4 separate regions of the Homo sapiens genome follow, and regions 1, 2 and 4 are each linked to region 3. Evidence: promoter capture Hi-C in 16 types of primary human blood cells and fetal thymus (Javierre and others, 2016). All regions are on one chromosome and are shown on one strand. Each heading gives the region's core, a stretch centred on a gene start or on the middle of the fragment in contact. The rest is flanking DNA. Distances are from core to core; before and after follow the strand shown. Region 1 has its middle 14 kb from the start of SMUG1-AS1. Region 2 has its middle 2.7 kb from the start of SMUG1-AS1. Region 3 holds the start of HOXC-AS2 (HOXC cluster antisense RNA 2). Region 4 overlaps CBX5 (chromobox 5).

What was found. Contacts are between HindIII fragments. The CHiCAGO score rates a contact against its expected background, and 5 or more counts as called.
Region 1: a fragment that was not itself captured here is called in contact with the fragment with the promoter of HOXC-AS2 in region 3 in 11 of 17 cell types (naive CD4 T cells, naive CD8 T cells, total CD8 T cells and 8 more); the score reaches 11.2 in naive CD4 T cells.
Region 2: a fragment that was not itself captured here is called in contact with the fragment with the promoter of HOXC-AS2 in region 3 in 9 of 17 cell types (naive CD8 T cells, naive CD4 T cells, total CD8 T cells and 6 more); the score reaches 10.2 in naive CD8 T cells.
Region 4: a fragment that was not itself captured here is called in contact with the fragment with the promoter of HOXC-AS2 in region 3 in 8 of 17 cell types (naive CD8 T cells, total B cells, naive B cells and 5 more); the score reaches 9.9 in naive CD8 T cells.

The regions. Positions count from the first base shown.
Region 1 is chr12:54,155,021-54,158,867 of GRCh38, forward strand. It overlaps a transcript of SMUG1 not described here. Among named protein-coding and RNA genes, the nearest start is that of SMUG1-AS1, 14 kb to the left of the region's middle. The HindIII fragment of the contact is 2,695 bases long and covers 1,126-3,820 here.
Region 2 is chr12:54,138,008-54,141,884 of GRCh38, forward strand. No RefSeq gene overlaps it. Among named protein-coding and RNA genes, the nearest start is that of SMUG1-AS1, 2.7 kb to the right of the region's middle. The HindIII fragment of the contact is 3,759 bases long and covers 1-3,238 here.
Region 3 is chr12:53,995,215-53,999,206 of GRCh38, forward strand. HOXC-AS2 (HOXC cluster antisense RNA 2) reads right to left here and starts at 1,571. Exons shown (of 3, transcript NR_047505.1): 1 at 1,456-1,571; 2 at 619-695; 3 at 1-304. HOXC-AS1 (HOXC cluster antisense RNA 1) reads right to left here. Exons shown (of 2, transcript NR_047504.1): 2 at 3,808-3,992. RefSeq lists an enhancer at 3-571. The HindIII fragment of the contact is 15,520 bases long and covers 1-3,992 here.
Region 4 is chr12:54,247,959-54,251,432 of GRCh38, forward strand. The region is part of intron 3 of CBX5 (chromobox 5); the gene reads right to left. Among named protein-coding and RNA genes, the nearest start is that of SCAT2, 13 kb to the right of the region's middle. RefSeq lists a silencer at 1,048-1,247. The HindIII fragment of the contact is 5,143 bases long and covers 1-3,474 here.

The sequences.
Region 1 (3,847 bases), core at 1,223-3,722, 160 kb after region 3:
GCAGCCAAATCACACTCAATGAGTCTTGACTTGTACTCTCTGGTTTGGATCTCTCTAGCTCTTCCCTCCCGCCAACTACCGCCCCCAGCAAACTGCTGATCCTTCCCTGCCATCAATTTCCCCCACTTGGTTTCTTCACTTGTTTTCTGGGGTCCTTCTTCCCTAGGAGAAAGGGCTAAATTTTGCTAGACCTCCCAGCTGCTCCAAGGAGGGGAAAAGTCACCAACTCCACCTCCTTCCAAAGTTCATGTGGTTTCCCCCCTCGATTTTCCCACAGTCCTTCCCCTCTTCCCTCCAGAGCTCTAGGCTGAGTGGCATCAGTGGGAACAAACCTCTCACACTGTAAACAGAGCGGCTTTCCTGAGGCTGGATGCAAGGTCCTTGGAGATCACACAGTGGGCAGGGGCTGGGAAGCTGGGACCCTGGGGCACCTTGAACATACACCAGTTCCCCTTCGGCTCCCTGCAAAGAAAATCTCCCACCTCTAAGGCCTTATGGAGACTGGGACATGGGTTTGGGGGTACACTCTGAGGCCTGCATCCAGTGCTCTCCCAAGGGTGACTTGGGAAGTGGGGGTGAGCCAGAGGTCATAATGTAGAATAGGGGTCTCCCCTCACTCAAGACCCCACCCCCTTCCTTACATTTCTGAGGAACTTTCCTGGCCTCCACGGACAATTCCAGCCTCAGTATTCCCAGGGAAGGGTAATGAGGCAAGTGGGACATTTCTCAGGCTGGGAGAGACCCCCAAGGTCAGGGTCAGATAGAAGGCAGGATGTGTGGGAGGCAGAGGAGTCAGGAATATGGGAATCTGGGGTGGTGGGAAATCCTGTGGTTCCTGAAGCAGCAACAACATTTGCAAAGGAGACTCCACCAGAGGAGCTGCCTGGAGGCTCACTGAGGCATTCTGCAGCCCAGACCCACCCGTAGACTACCAGTCAGGGACTGCACTCAGGCCTGATACCAAGCCACTGGGGCTGATGTGAAGGGAGGTGAGTACAGGTTCTCCCAGGCAATTATCAAGAGGAAAAGAAACAGAGCAGAGACCATTAGGGAAGAAATGAGAAGGGAGAGGGGCCCCAGACACAATTCTCCAAATAAGTCCTTCTGTGTACTGTGTGTGAATTAAGCTTCTGCCTACCTAAAGTCCAAAGGAATCTTGTAACGTCAATCCCATTTTTCATATCAATAAATAGAGGGTGCAAGAGGCAAAGGAAGTAGCCCAGATCACATGGGCTACAGATCAAATGGGCCTGGCCATTTATCTAGTTACCACCCCCCAGCCTCCTCACCTGCTGTGTTGTAAGGGGCTACCTATGCATCTATTTACATCTGGCTGATAGTCTCCATTCTCACCACCACAAAAACAGAATCTCAGAGTAAGGAGGTCCAACCTCCCCATGGTGCAATTAGGGAACTGATGCCCAGAGAAGGGAAGCTGCTTGCTTAGGGTCACAGAGCCAGAAGAATCAGGGCAGGGACTTAAACCAATTCAGAAGGCTGCTCTTTCCTAGAGCCAGGTTCTCAACTATTTACATACACAGATGTCAGACACCATATTAGGCACCAGGGAAATAAAGATGAATGAGTACAGGCCCTGCCTTGAGAGGCTCAGAAGTGAGGAGACAGGCTCCCCCGACCCAGCCTGTAGAAAGACATCCTCCAGATGCCAAGGACCACATGCTAAGAAAGAAGTTGCTCTAAGCTGGGGAAGTCAAAAAGGCCACCTGGAGGGGGTGGGCCTAAAAAATGATTAGAGGTGTGAGTGGGAGGAGGGCACTCGCTCTGGTGATCCAGGCGGGAGGAAATGTAAGTGCACAGGAATAGTCCTCTTGGGGAAGACACTCCTGCTGGAGGATTATGGGAGACAAGGCTGGAAAGGCAGGTTGGGAATAGACAGACCAGAGAAGAACCTGAGTGCCGGCTAGAGGGCCTGAGCTTCACTCCATGGGCACTGGGGAGTTATGGAAGGTTTCTGTCTGGGGTGACGGGGGATCCATGCAAAGGGACTTACTAGGAAATTTACTCTAATAAAGTAGGGTAATAAATTAGGGAGCAGCTTACAGGGCAGACTTCCTTGGAAAAAACCTGAGGCATCAAGCATGTCAATGCATCTGTGGGTTGCCTCTTGGGGTGACTGTGGTGTGAGTGTGTGTGTATGTGTGTGTACGCACACACACAAGTGTAGTGCTAAGACCAGGAAAGCCTGGTTTCACAAAACTGCTCCAGTCTGCCCTGGTGGGGAGATGATGGATCACCAGATCCCCACCCCTTCTGTCTCCCTTTCATAACCACCCTGAATGGGCAAAAGCATAGCTGCCTCCCCACACAGTCTGTGTACCCTGAACCCCAGCACGCACATGAAGAAACTGTCCTAGAAGCAGAGACACGCGCACACACACCAGGGAGCACAGTAAGCAACCTCTTACCTAACCTTTTCCCTCAAGACTCATGCCAATAGAGAAGGGCACCCAGGGCACTATAAAGGACAAGGGTGAGGGAGGGTCCACCCCACAGCCTGATGAGCTTAGGAGGACAGTGAGGAGTCAGGTGGGGGGGAATGAGGGGGCACTGCTGCTGAGGACAGCCCAACAATTTGCAATCCACGTAAACCCAGGGGTGGGGGTGATTGGGAAAAATGCCCTGGGAGACAAATAAAGATTGGCAGGGGACCATTCAGAAAAGGACTTACTGGAGCTGGGTGCAGTGGTTCATGCCTGTAATCCCAGTACTTTGGGAGGCTGAGGTGAGCGGATCACCTGAGGTCGGGAGTTTGAGACCATCCTGGCCAACATGATGAAATCCCATCTCTACTAAAAATACGAAAATTAGCTGGGCGTGGTGGCAGGCTGTAATCTCAGCTACTCAGGAAGCTGAGGCAGGAGAATCACTTGAACCCAGGAGGCAGAAGTTGCAGTGAGCCGAGATTGGGCCACTGCACTCCAGCCTGGGCGACAGAGTGAGAATCCATCTCAAAAAAAAAAAAGGACTCACTGGAACATGAGGAGCCTTCCTGCTGCCTTCCCCCCAACTCCCTTCCTCTCTATCCACACTGACTGACCCCTCAAGGTCTGCTTACCTGGACAACTGGTTTATTTTGTCCTCCTTTTGGGACCGGGGGTGGAAAGGGACTCAAGGTCCCCTTCCCCCTCTTCCTCAGCCAAGAGATCCCCCAAAATGGGAGGACTATGAGCAATGAATCCTGGTGGAGTTGTCATTACTGTGAGTTGCAATATCATTTAATAAGGATAGCAATTATCATAGCCACATCATCATAGCCCCTACCACCAGGAGAAGGGGGCTGGCAGCCAAAATGCCTGGTGCTACTCACCAGCTCTGTGCCCAACCCTTCCCTACTTTCCCTTCTTGAAACCTGCAGAATCCTAATTTTGGGATTCCTAGGATCTCAGAATCAGAAGAAATCTTGTAGTGGTCCCATTCCCAAACCACCTGTTTGCCTGCCTCCAGCCAGGGGCACTCACACCCACCAGGCATCCCATTGCACTGGGGTGTTGTTGAATACATGCCTCTGCCCCCTAACACCTCAGTGCCCCCGGGGAGAAGTCTGGAGGAGTTCCATCATCTTTACAATCCTGGGGTCTTCCTCATCCCTCCCCAAGCCAGGCCAGACCTGGAGCCTCCCACACTGATGTGTCACAACCTCCTCAAGCGTCCAGTTCAGTGTCACCCAACCCACCGCTCCAACAAATCATTCCAAGTTCTACCTCCAGCCCTCCTACTCTAACTCCAGCCTACTTCTGCAGCTATTTGCCACGAGCCACCCACCAGACAGGAAAATGATGATCTGATTCATCTTATAAAAAGCTTTCCAAACCTCTATCTCCACCTT
Region 2 (3,877 bases), core at 109-2,608, 140 kb after region 3:
TAATTGCCTACCTATTAAATGCCAGGCCCCACTAGGTGCTTACATATGGGTTATCCTTTCCAATCCAGGGATTTTAAGACTGTTTTCCTTCCCTGATGATGGACTTTTGTCATTTCTAATCTAGCCCAAGACCACGCACTGCTCCATGGTCCTGTTACTCTGGGAGACAGCTTCCATTCCTGATACCACTTTCATGAAGACTTAACTTCGGAAATCATTTTGTCCATCTCTCTCTGTCTCTGGGCAAAGTCTCACTTGAATATTGCTAGTTCTCATGTTGGCCAGCTTGGGCTTCTAAACAGAACCCTGACCCAAAAAGGGCATCATGGTGACCCATAGTTGCACAGCTCCTCAGGGGAGAGGGGGGCATCTTACACATTGAATTCTATGTGAATGGCACCACCTAGAGTTGTGCTCCAGGAATTCAGTGAATGGCGCTCTCTGGAGCTCAGCAATGCTGCCACACCCTACCACCCAGAGATACCTGGTGATCAAGTCAGCCTTAGGCAGCATTCAAGGATGAAAAACCTAGGTTTTGAAAACTAGGGTATCAATATCTCAGCCCCCCAAAAAAGGGAGTGGAGATCCTCTCCACCTCATTGACTGCTGAGAGATCCCTGCTTAGCACACAGCTCACCAATCTTCTCTCCATCAACTTCAAAGTCCCCTCCAGCCTCAGGGAGGCCCCCAAGGGTATGAAGCAAAGCTGGTTTGATCTGAGCTTGGTGTTGGGTGGTGTCACCCCAGCACAGTTCAGGCTAGGCCTAGAAATCACAGTGAGACCAAAGACCCCATCTTGGGAAGGGATAGGAGTGGGGACTGGAGGGGTGGGTACAATCTTCAGAGCATAGTATATTGTTTACAATCGCCCAGGTCCCTCCTAGACACAAGGCCTGCCAGGCTCACACTTGGGTCTTCCCTAGCAGGCAAAGCTGTTTTGCCTGCTCACCCTCTGTCAAGTTTATCCCACATGCACATCCCCCTTCATCCTCTGCCTAGCCCTTCCTTCCCCTTCTCTCATGTCCTTTCTTATTTTCCTCTCCCAGAGACTCTGAATAAAACCCTCTGACCGCTGTAATCTCCACAACATTCCCCTTGAGCACTGATTCTCTCAGCTGACAGGGCCCTTCAGGCCGTGTGTCACCAGGACAGGAGCTTCTAATGTGTCCTACTCACCCCCTTATGTCAGAACATCCCTGACTCAACAGCTCATGGAAGCTCAGCCCTCAGAGCCCCAGACAAAGCTACCACGTGGAGGCACCAGCACTCACAGAGAGGGTCAGCTGGTCCACAGCCAACCTGTCTTGACTGAAGTCTTCCTTCATGCTAGGCACTGTGGGCCATAGAAACAGTATGGGTAGTCTGGCCCCAAAGAGCATTTGGTCTCATGTGACAAAAAAGAGATACATCCATCCCAGATTTAAAAATAAGAATAGGGGCCATGCCTGGTGGCTTATACCTGCAATCCCAGTACTTTGGGAGGCCAAAGTAGGAGGCTCTCTTGAGGCCAAAAGTTTGAGACTAACCTTGGCAACGCAGCGAGACCCTGTTTCTACAAAAGAAATTTTAAAAATTAGTGGGGTGTGGTAGCTCATGCATGTAATCCCAGCACTTTGGGAGGCTGAGGTGGGTGGATCACTTGAGGTCAGGAGTTTGAGACTAGCCTGACCAAAATGGTGAAACCTCATCTCTACTAAAAATACAAAAATTAGCCAGGCATGGTGGTGGGCACCTGTAATCCTAGTCCCAGCTACTCGGGAGGCTGAGGCAGGAGAATCGCTTGAACCCAGGAGGCAGAGGTTGCAGTGAGCCGAGACCATGCCACTGCACCCCAGCCTGGGTGACAGAGCAAGAGTCAGTCTCAACAAAAAGAAAAAAGAATTAGCTGAGTGTGATGGTGAGTGCCTGTAGTCCTAGCTACGGGAGGCTGAGGCAGGAGGATCACTTGAGCCCACTAGAGGTTGCAGTGAGCTGTGATTGTACCACTGCACTCCAGCCTGGGCGACAGAGCAAGCAAGACCCTGTCTCTAATAAATAAATATCTGACCATGAAGGTGAGCCTTATGGGCAATAAGTTTCAGGGGCAGAAGAAAGTGCTGTCACTGAGGGTCCTCCCAGGAGACTCCCAGAGGCGGTCAGATAGGAGCTATCCTTGCAGTTTTAGAAAGGCTGAGAGCCCATCAGAGGCCTCCAGGCTGCTAAAGAACCATCCTACGGGTTGTCCTTTGTTTCCCCCAGAACATTGGTCATGGGAGGAATGGGCTCCAGCAGCAGCAGGGTAGCATCACCGAGCACCTGCTCGCTGCCAGGCACTGTGCTGGGAACTAGGAACACAGAGAAGAACAAGGAGGTCCATGTCATCAAGGCACCGACAGTCTGGATGGGGAAAGAAACCACGGATCTTTACAAAGCAAGGTGAAAAGAACCAAGACTATAGGTACACCTAGGGCACCGGGGGAGCACCATGCACACACCTAAACCTCCCTGGGAAGGGAAAGGAAAGGGTCATGGAAGTCTCCCTGAAGGGGAGGAGTATGGAAACTATAAGCAAAATTATATGCAAATGGTGCCCCTTTTTTCTCCCTACACTCCTCCCAACTGAAGGTGACCTTCCACCCCAACAATAAATCCTTAGCTTCTTAAACTAAGGTTACAGTGGGGTGTCAACACCCCAACCGACTCTCACTCATCCTCAAATGATCCAAATCTGAACTGGGATTCCAGCCAGATATGGGGTGCCTCCCTAACCCATGTGCCCCACAGTCGATCCCACCCTGCCAGCATCATGACCAGACACTCTATGATTCCTGAGACAGGACAGAGCCTGGGGAACAGGGAGGGGAGCGCCTACTGTCTCCTGGAATTCACATACCCTACAGCCTTCCTCTTTCATGCCCCTGTGTGTGGAAGATGCCCCTGTTCCCCACCGCTCTCCATCTGTGATCTGGCTCCTGCCCTCCTCCTGCTATAGCTGCTCCTCCTCCCCCCTTGGAAGAATGCACCCTCCCCTCAGCTTTCCCTCCACAGAGGCCAGAGCAGGAGGGAGGCTGCATATGGCCCCGTTTTCCTTGGCCTGGGTAGGCTATTTTGGAAGCGAGAACCCTCCTTGCCCTTTCCTCCCCTCTGGGAAGCACCGTCCCTCCCCTCTCCACATTCCCCAGAAGTTCTCAGACTGAGATCCGCCCTACGTGCAGTTATGTGGTGAAATCACTGCTTTCCTCCCCGCCGGAGGCGCCAAAGCTTGGAAGGGAGGGTACTCAAACCTTTGATGTAGGCACGTTTCAGAAGGCCCACCTGTCCCCTCTCTCCCCAGCCCCCAGCCTGAAAGGCTGGAGCCCCTCATCACAGCTTTCCTGCCTGGATTAGCTGGGGGTAAGATCAGGTCACACACACTCTATCCCGCTGGGGGCAATCAGGCCCAACCACACTCGGGGACATCTGTCTCCAGCAAATAGGGGGCAATCCCAAATTTGAGGGGTTCTGTGACACTTAAAAGCTTCAAGCAGGAAGTTCTGCAATTTCTCTTGGACCAGGGCCTGCGGGGAGGGTCGCTCAGAAACCCTCGTTTGATGTTGCGCTTTCATGGCTGTGGTTTGATCCAGATGTTCCCCAATTGTGGGATTTTATTTTTGGGAGGGAGGGGCCCTTGGCTATAAAGGCATTTCCATCATGTGCACATTTGGATCTGGGCCTGCTGGGCGGGGGTGCTCTTCCAGCTCTCACTAACCCCACCCTTCCCCCTAGGATCATATCCTTTCCCTTCACATCCAGAGAAGAGAAGAGGATCCATAAGGGGGCATTCCCAGCTCCTTGATGGTTTGCTGTGTGACTGTCCAAAAATGTCTCTACATCTCTGTTTTTCTGGCACCATAAGCTG
Region 3 (3,992 bases), core at 321-2,820:
CACTTTCATTCATTGGGTTATCTGCAACTGAGAGGGGCTGGTTAAGGCGTCCCCAAGTTGGAAGGGCGCTTTGCTTCTGTTTTCTGGATGCAGAGTCCTCTGACTCCCTCTGCCACGGGCTGAGTTTCCGGCTCCAGGTTCGCGTGTCGCCCTGAGGTTTGAGGCCAGACAGCTCGCAGTCGGGCAGGGAGGGCGGGGGAGAGACGAGCGGCTCTGGCCCCTTAATTGTACTTCGGGCTCGTATTGTCTCTCCTTTCGCCACCTCCGCTTCCTCAGTCTGGGCTCCAAAGTCACTGCAAATTTCCTTGCGACACATACATCACACAAAAGATCAGGTAACAAGGCGCTCAGGGCCACTGGGGCTCCGGGCAGGGCAGGGAGCGGCTCTAGCTCTGGGGCGGCTCCCCCTCCAGCCACTCCCAGGCTGGAAAACCAGACCGCGTTGGGGGAGCCGGAAATAGCCCCGCTTGCTGCGGAGCGTCAGGGCGGGGGCGCCGGCGGGAATGCAGGCCCGGCAGGCCGTGGCTTTGAGAGAGCCACGTTCACAGGCCCTGGGGATTTCACTCCTGCTGGGCCTCGGGACCTGACTCCTGGTGTGTAGGGATCCCAGATACCCACCTTGGGTGGGGGCAGGACGCGGGTTTCCTCGCGGCAGGCCAAGAGAACTCAGTTTCTGCTTCCAGCGCAGGCCTTAGCTAGGAGGAGTTGTGTGTGGGTGTGTTTTTCCCAACAAAGAGGGATCAGGAGAGAGAAGGGGGGAAAGTAGAGGGGAACCAGGGAGGGGGCGGGGAGGGGAAGAGGGCAGTGGAGAGGTGAAATGAGCCCATTTCAGGGGGAGAAGGAAAATGAAAGCAAATGGAGTACGGCCTTCTCCGCGCAGGGCGGGTGCTGACGAGCCGGGAGCGGGCTCCCTGCCTGCGGCAGCCGGGATGGCCCGCTGGGGACACCGGAGAAAGCCTGTTTTAAATTTAATCCGAACTTGACGGTGTGGATTGAACCGGAGGGAATTTAAATCACTAAAAGGAAGGCGCGGGGCAGGGGGAGGGGACGACTCTAACCTGTCTATCTTTCTGTCTGTCCTTCCCACGGTGCTAGTTTGGTTGTGGCCGCAGCTGCCCAGGTTTCAGGTGATGGAGTAAGGGTGCCCCTCCCCCTCAGGGGTCTCTCCTGTGCCCAGTGAAGTCTTTTGGGGGTGGGAGGGAACTCTAAGAACCAGAGTGAATGCACAGCTGCGAGCTAAAGCTGGGGTTTCCCCCTCCCCAACAAGAACTCCCAGTGGCCTCCAGTCCCTGGGTTTGCCCCAGCGGTGCTGAGGAAAATTGAAGGGAGTATGTGGGTGAGGGGAAGTCTGGAGTATGGCAGAAGATTCAGAAGGAGTAACTGAACCCCAGGAAGACAGACCTTCCTTCTTGGTGCCCCTATATCCTTTGTGCCCCGCCCCCCGCACCTACAAACCTGGATTTGAGGGAAATCTGCAGGTCCGCTTCAAAGCCCTGGTCTGCCACCCACACCCCTCCAAATGTGGAGAATGGGGGCTACAGGCCACATGCAGTTGTGGACCTGCGGAACCTCCGCCCAGTGGACTCCGGAACTCCCAGCCTCTTCTAGCCCCCCTCCCCAAGGCCGCCTCTCTCCGAAGGGCGCAGGGAAAATGAGGCATTGGCTGGGAAGGGGCTGTGGGCGAGGCCTGCTTCCTGATCCACAGCCGTGCCTGCCTCTGAGTGGGAAGAGTTCGGAGGTCATAGTCCCAGAAAATAAAATAAAATAAAGGAAAGCGACAATCTCCTTGGTTTCACAGGGGATTTCACGGCAGCAGGGATCCCGCCGGTGAGCCTCACTGCCCGCTGCTGCCGCCTCCGCAGAGTGGGCAGGCAGGGTGCGCAGGCAGCTCAAGAGTTGAAAAGAAGGCGGTGTTCAAAGGGGGTAGGAGAGAAGGGGGCATCTCTTTACGGCCCCAATGTCTATTTGAGGAACTCTCCCAAATAGCAGAGGCCCATAGGGGAGGCTCCTTAGGGACTCTTTCCTCCAGGAAAGCTGAGGCTGGGGCAGCTGGCCTTGTCGCTTGGAGAAGACGCAAAGGAAGAGCAGGGGTGAAACCTCTTTCCTCTTCTGTTTCTTCGCTCCTTGAATAGAGCAGGGCTCAGCCCCCAGCTGCCTAAGCGGCTGTCTGGACCAATATGGGGTTCTATATCCCTGAGGCCTAGAGTACCCATCCGAGCAAGTCTCCTGGGAGGGGCAGGAGAGGAGCCCTCTTCCGCCTTTGTGTCCAGACAGAAGTGGCCGCCGCGCCCGGAGCCGGTCCCGCGGCAAAGGCCCGGCAAGCCAGCGGGCTGCACAATGCCACGGCTGCTCCGCCAGCTCGCCCCTGCCCCGTCCTGCCTGCCTACGGCCGCCCTTCCTCCGCCTCCCTCTCTGCACGCCTGCCTTTCCCGGCTCTCCTATCTCTTTTCATCTTGCCTTCCTTCTTTTAATTCTCCCCCTTTTTTCCCTTTATTCTAATGCTCCGCTTCCTTCTTTCCTCTCTTGGGCCTGACTCCATGTTTCAGTTGGTCTGTCCCAGGCTGTCTCGGGTTCAGTCTCTCTCAGGCTCTGTCCCCTGATGTCCTCTTGGTCTCAGTCTGGCCCCGGGCCCCGCTGAGGGCTAAACGTCTCTGCTCATCGCTGCCAGCAGCCGCCCAAGTGCCGGGCCCGGTCCTCAGCCGCCCTGGGCTGGGGGAGGTGCTGGCTGTACTGGGGATTTGGAGAAAGCCTCGGCAGGGGGACTGGAACCTCCTGTCTTTTCCTTGAACTAGTGAGGGAGATTTTTTGATTGACAGCTAACCCAACTCCATCAAGGCCAAAGAGATATTCTGTTTCTTGTTGTAAGTTGGGCTTCCCAGCTCAGTCCAGCTCAAGGGAGGGGAAGACAGTGGCGCCAAGGAGCTGAACCCCCAAGTCGCCTCTCCCCAACCAAACACATCCCTCATCCTCCCCCATGAGTTGAAATCCCAGCCCCGTTAAGCCGCCCCCTTAGACCAAAAAGGAAAAGGAAAGAGCCAGAGAGGGGGAGGAGCAGAGACTTGGGAGGGGGCCTATGGAGCTGGGGTCGGTGCTGCCAGCTGCAGCTGTCTCCCCCTAACTTTCCTCCCCCCGGAACACACATACTATACACACTCTCCCCAGCCCCTCTCCACCCCAGAGGAGAAAGATCCATAGAGACGCAGGAGAAAACTAGCCCCCGCCCCTACCCCTGGCGTTTGGTCCCCTCCTGGGGACAGGAGAGGGAAAGAAGGGCAGGCGTGGCCGGGTCTGGGAAGACTCCTACCCTGCTGCCTCCAGAGCCTGCATCTCAACCTCAGCTCCTGTCTATTTTCCCTGGCCACAGACTGGGACTCTTCCTTTCTGACCCTGAAATTGCACCCCTCCTTTAAATTCACTCTACCCTGCCTAAGTGCACCATATTTCTGGGGGTTTCACCTGTCCCTTTCTCCCCACCCCCCAGCCAACCTCCATGCCCCCTCTTCTTCACCCACCCTGATAATTTCCTACTTGACTAAAGCCCCCCTTTACTACACCACCATGGGACAGTCTGATGCAAAGCAGAGGGCTGGGCACAAACCCTCAATTGAAGGAGGAGGGTAGCAACCAACTTATTGGGGGGAGGAATCCAAGTTGTCTGATATTCCTCTGCAATCACACTGCCCCCTCTGGAATTCCTGCATCCGACCCCAAAGAAATTGCTTTCTCCTGTTCCTCCGTTGCTTTTTTCCCGTTCCAAAAACAGCCTACAATTTTATTTAATGAAAGATACATTTATGAACAATCAAATGATCCTCATAAAAATTTTATTGAGGGACGTAAAAACAAGCTACTTGCCCACGACCGAGGTCGCTCTTTTGCCTTGCCCGCTCTCACCCTGGCTCTCTGCAGACAGAGCCCGGGAGCGACTTTTTGGGGGGAGTGGGGGTGGGGAAGTGTCGCAGAGATGGAGTTGGGGGCAAAGGAGGGTGCGC
Region 4 (3,474 bases), core at 254-2,753, 250 kb after region 3:
GCCTCCTGAGTAGTTGGGATTACAGGTGCGTGCCACCGCACCTGGCTAATTTTTCCATTTTTAGTAGAGACAGGGGTCTCACCATTTTGGCCAGGCTGGTCTCAAACTCCTAGCCTCAGGTGATCCACCCTGCCTCGGCCTCCCAAAGTGCTGAGATTACAGATGTGAGCCATCACACCCGGCTACGCCTGGCTAATTTTTTGTATTTTTAGTCGAGACAGGGTTTCACCATGTTGACCACACTGGTCTTGAACTCCTGGCCTCAAGTGATCCACACGCCTCAGCCTCCCAAAGTGCTGGGATTACAGGCGTGAGCCACCGCACCCGGCCCAAACTAGGTAATTTGAAAAAACTTTATTATGGAAGATAATGCTAGCCTCTCTAGTGGCAACACACACACAAAAAAAAGATTTAGAGATGCCCAAATGAACTAAATCTCTACTGCCCGATTTTCATAATAAAATCTCTTTGATCTTATGTTCACCTGCTTTCCTCTGAGACATACAAAGCATTTGGGGTCCGGGTGGTCCCCAAAGATACCAAAATTCACAATTGGAAGGACATTCCACGCGTGGATCAATGAGAGATACTGACTTTTAAAAACATAGCCTCTTTTGGGGGTGCTTAAGGGGAAGAAGTTCCCAGATGTGCACACAGCTGCTCACAGCTGGAATGCTGGTGCATGGACTAAGTTGTAAATCATAACTGGCAACTGAAAACAGTTTGCTACATAGGGAGGGAAGAGGAGGCGAATGGAAGAAAAACGTTCAAGCTGCTGAAAAGGAGCCAGGGCGAAGAAAATGCTAAAATCATCATACAGGCAGTAATCTTAAATCAGGCATAATGCAAACTAACAAATTTCTTCTCCAGTGGTCTTAAGAAATAAACACAATCCCCTCCTATACCTTTAAAACATACAATCACCTATCTTTCCAGCTGTCTACCTGACAGCAGCCAGTACTGCTAAGAATGCTATCAGGGGTCCCAGATGAACATTATGATGTAAGGGACATGTGGGGGTTGTTTTCAAGGTCGGCAGCTTCAGAACCTGGCCTAGGAACAAAACTCTGTGCACTGGCCAGTGGCTCCAAGCCAGATTATTCAGACTGCTCCTTTTTAAAAATGACAGAGGCCAGGTGTGGTGGCTCATGCCTGTAATCACAGCACTTTGAGAGGCCAAGATGGGCGGATAACGAGGTCAGGAGATTGAGACCATTCTGGCTAACACGGTGAAACCCCATCTCTACTAAAAATACAAAAAATTAGCCAGGCATGGTGGCATGTGCCTGTAGTCCCAGCTACTAGGGAGGGTGAAGCAGGAGAATCGCTTGAACCCAGGAGGCAGAGGTTGCAGTGAGATTGTGCCACTGCACTCCAGCCTGGGCAACAGAGTGAGACTATGTCTCAAAAAAAAAAGAAAAAAAAAAAATTCTAATTTTACTGGTCTGGGGTGCATCTTAGGCACTGGAGATTTTTTTTTTTTTTTAACGTACCCCCCAGGTGATTATAATGTGTAGCATTGAGAACTAATGCTCTAGAAAGGTATAAATCTAATTAGAATGAAGATACATAGGGATGATTGTGGCAGCTACTCTGGAAGGCTGGAAGATTCCGAAGTAGACTTACGCTTTTATGAAATGTAAAGTGTATGATACATCCTTCACCACAAAAGGCTTCATAACCTTGAAATAAATAAAAGGAATGGAAGCTGGGGGCGGGAGGAGGTGGTAGAGTGTGTGTATTTATGCGCCCACACACAGATGAAAAGAGAGAGAGGCAATAACAGTGCTTATGCTACTTACTTGAGAGCTAAAGATCAGAAGGATTAAAGCAACTAAATCAAACCAAAATTTCATAAATACACTTCCCAAACTGAAGAAGATTCAAAAGACAAAAATTAATTTTGTACGCCAAGTATGTAGAAATAATAGATCAAGAGAATATAAATGCCACTGAACTGTACATTTTAAAATTGTTAATTGAGCCAGGCATGGTGGCTCACACCTGTAATCCCAACACTTTGGGAGGCCAAGGCAGGTGGATCACCTGAGTTAGGGAGTTCAAGACCACCCTGACCAACATGGAGAAACACCCTCTCTACTAAAAATACAAAATTAGCTGGGCATGGTGGTGCATGTCTGTAATCCCAACTACTCTGGAAGGCTGAGGCAGAAGAATCACTTGAACCCAGGAGATGGAGGGTGCAGTGAGCCAAGATCATGCCATTGAACTCCAGCCTGGGCAACAAGAGTGAAACTCCGTCTCAAAAAAATAAATAAAAAATAAAAATAAAAATACAAAAATTATCTGGCTATGGTGGCACATGCCTGTAATCCCAACTACTCAGAAGGCTGAAACAGGAGAATCACTTGAACCCAGGAGGTGAGGGTGCAGTAAGCCGAGATCACGCCCATGCACTCCAGCCTGAGTGACAGAACAAGACTCTGTCTCAAAATAAATAAATAAATAAAATATTTAATTGTATATTATATGATTTTCACTGCAAAAAAAAGATTATCAAGGATTGAAAACAAATGCTATCACTGGAACAAAAGAAAGGGCCGGGGCCGGGCGCGGTGGCTCACGCCTGTAATCCCAGCACTTTGGGAGGCCGAGGCGGGTGGATCATGAGGTCAGGAGATCGAGACCATCCTGGCTAACAAGGTGAAACCCCGTCTCTACTAAAAATACAAAAAATTAGCCGGGCGCGGTGGCGGGCGCCTGTAGTCCCAGCTACTCGGGAGGCTGAGGCAGGAGAATGGCGTGAACCCGGGAGGCAGAGCTTGCAGTGAGCCGAGATTGCGCCACTGCAGTCCGCAGTCCGGCCTGTGCGACAGAGCGAGACTCCGTCTCAAAAAAAAAAAAAAAAAAAAAAAAAAAAAAAAAGAAAGGGCCGGGCGCGGTGGCTCACGCCTGTAATCCCAACACTTTGGGAGGCCAAGGTGGATGGATCACAAGGTAAGGGGTTTGAGACCAGCCCGGCCAACATGGTGAAACCCCGTCTCTACTAAAGATACAAAAAATTAGCTGGGCATGGTGGCGTGTGCCTGTAATCCCAGCTACTTGGGAGGCTGAGGCAGGAGAACTGCTTGAACACAGGAGGTGGAAGTTCCAGTGAGCCAAGATCGCACTATTGCACTCAAGCCTGGGTGACAGAGCGATATTCTGTCTCCAAAAAAAAAGAAAAAAGGAAGTGAAATGGTAAACATTTCAAAGCCCCGGCTGGGCATGGTGGCTCACGTCTATAATCTCAACACTTTGGGAGGCCAAGGCAGGCGGATCACGAGGTCAGGAGTTCAAGACCAGCCTGACCAACATGGCGAAACCCCGTCTCTATTAAAAATACAAAAATTATCAAGACCATCCTGGCTAACATGGTAAAACCCCGTCTCTACTAAAAATACAAAAAAATTAGCTGGGCGTGGTGGCAGGCGCCTGTAGTCCCAGCTACTCGGGAGGCTGAGGGAGGAGAAT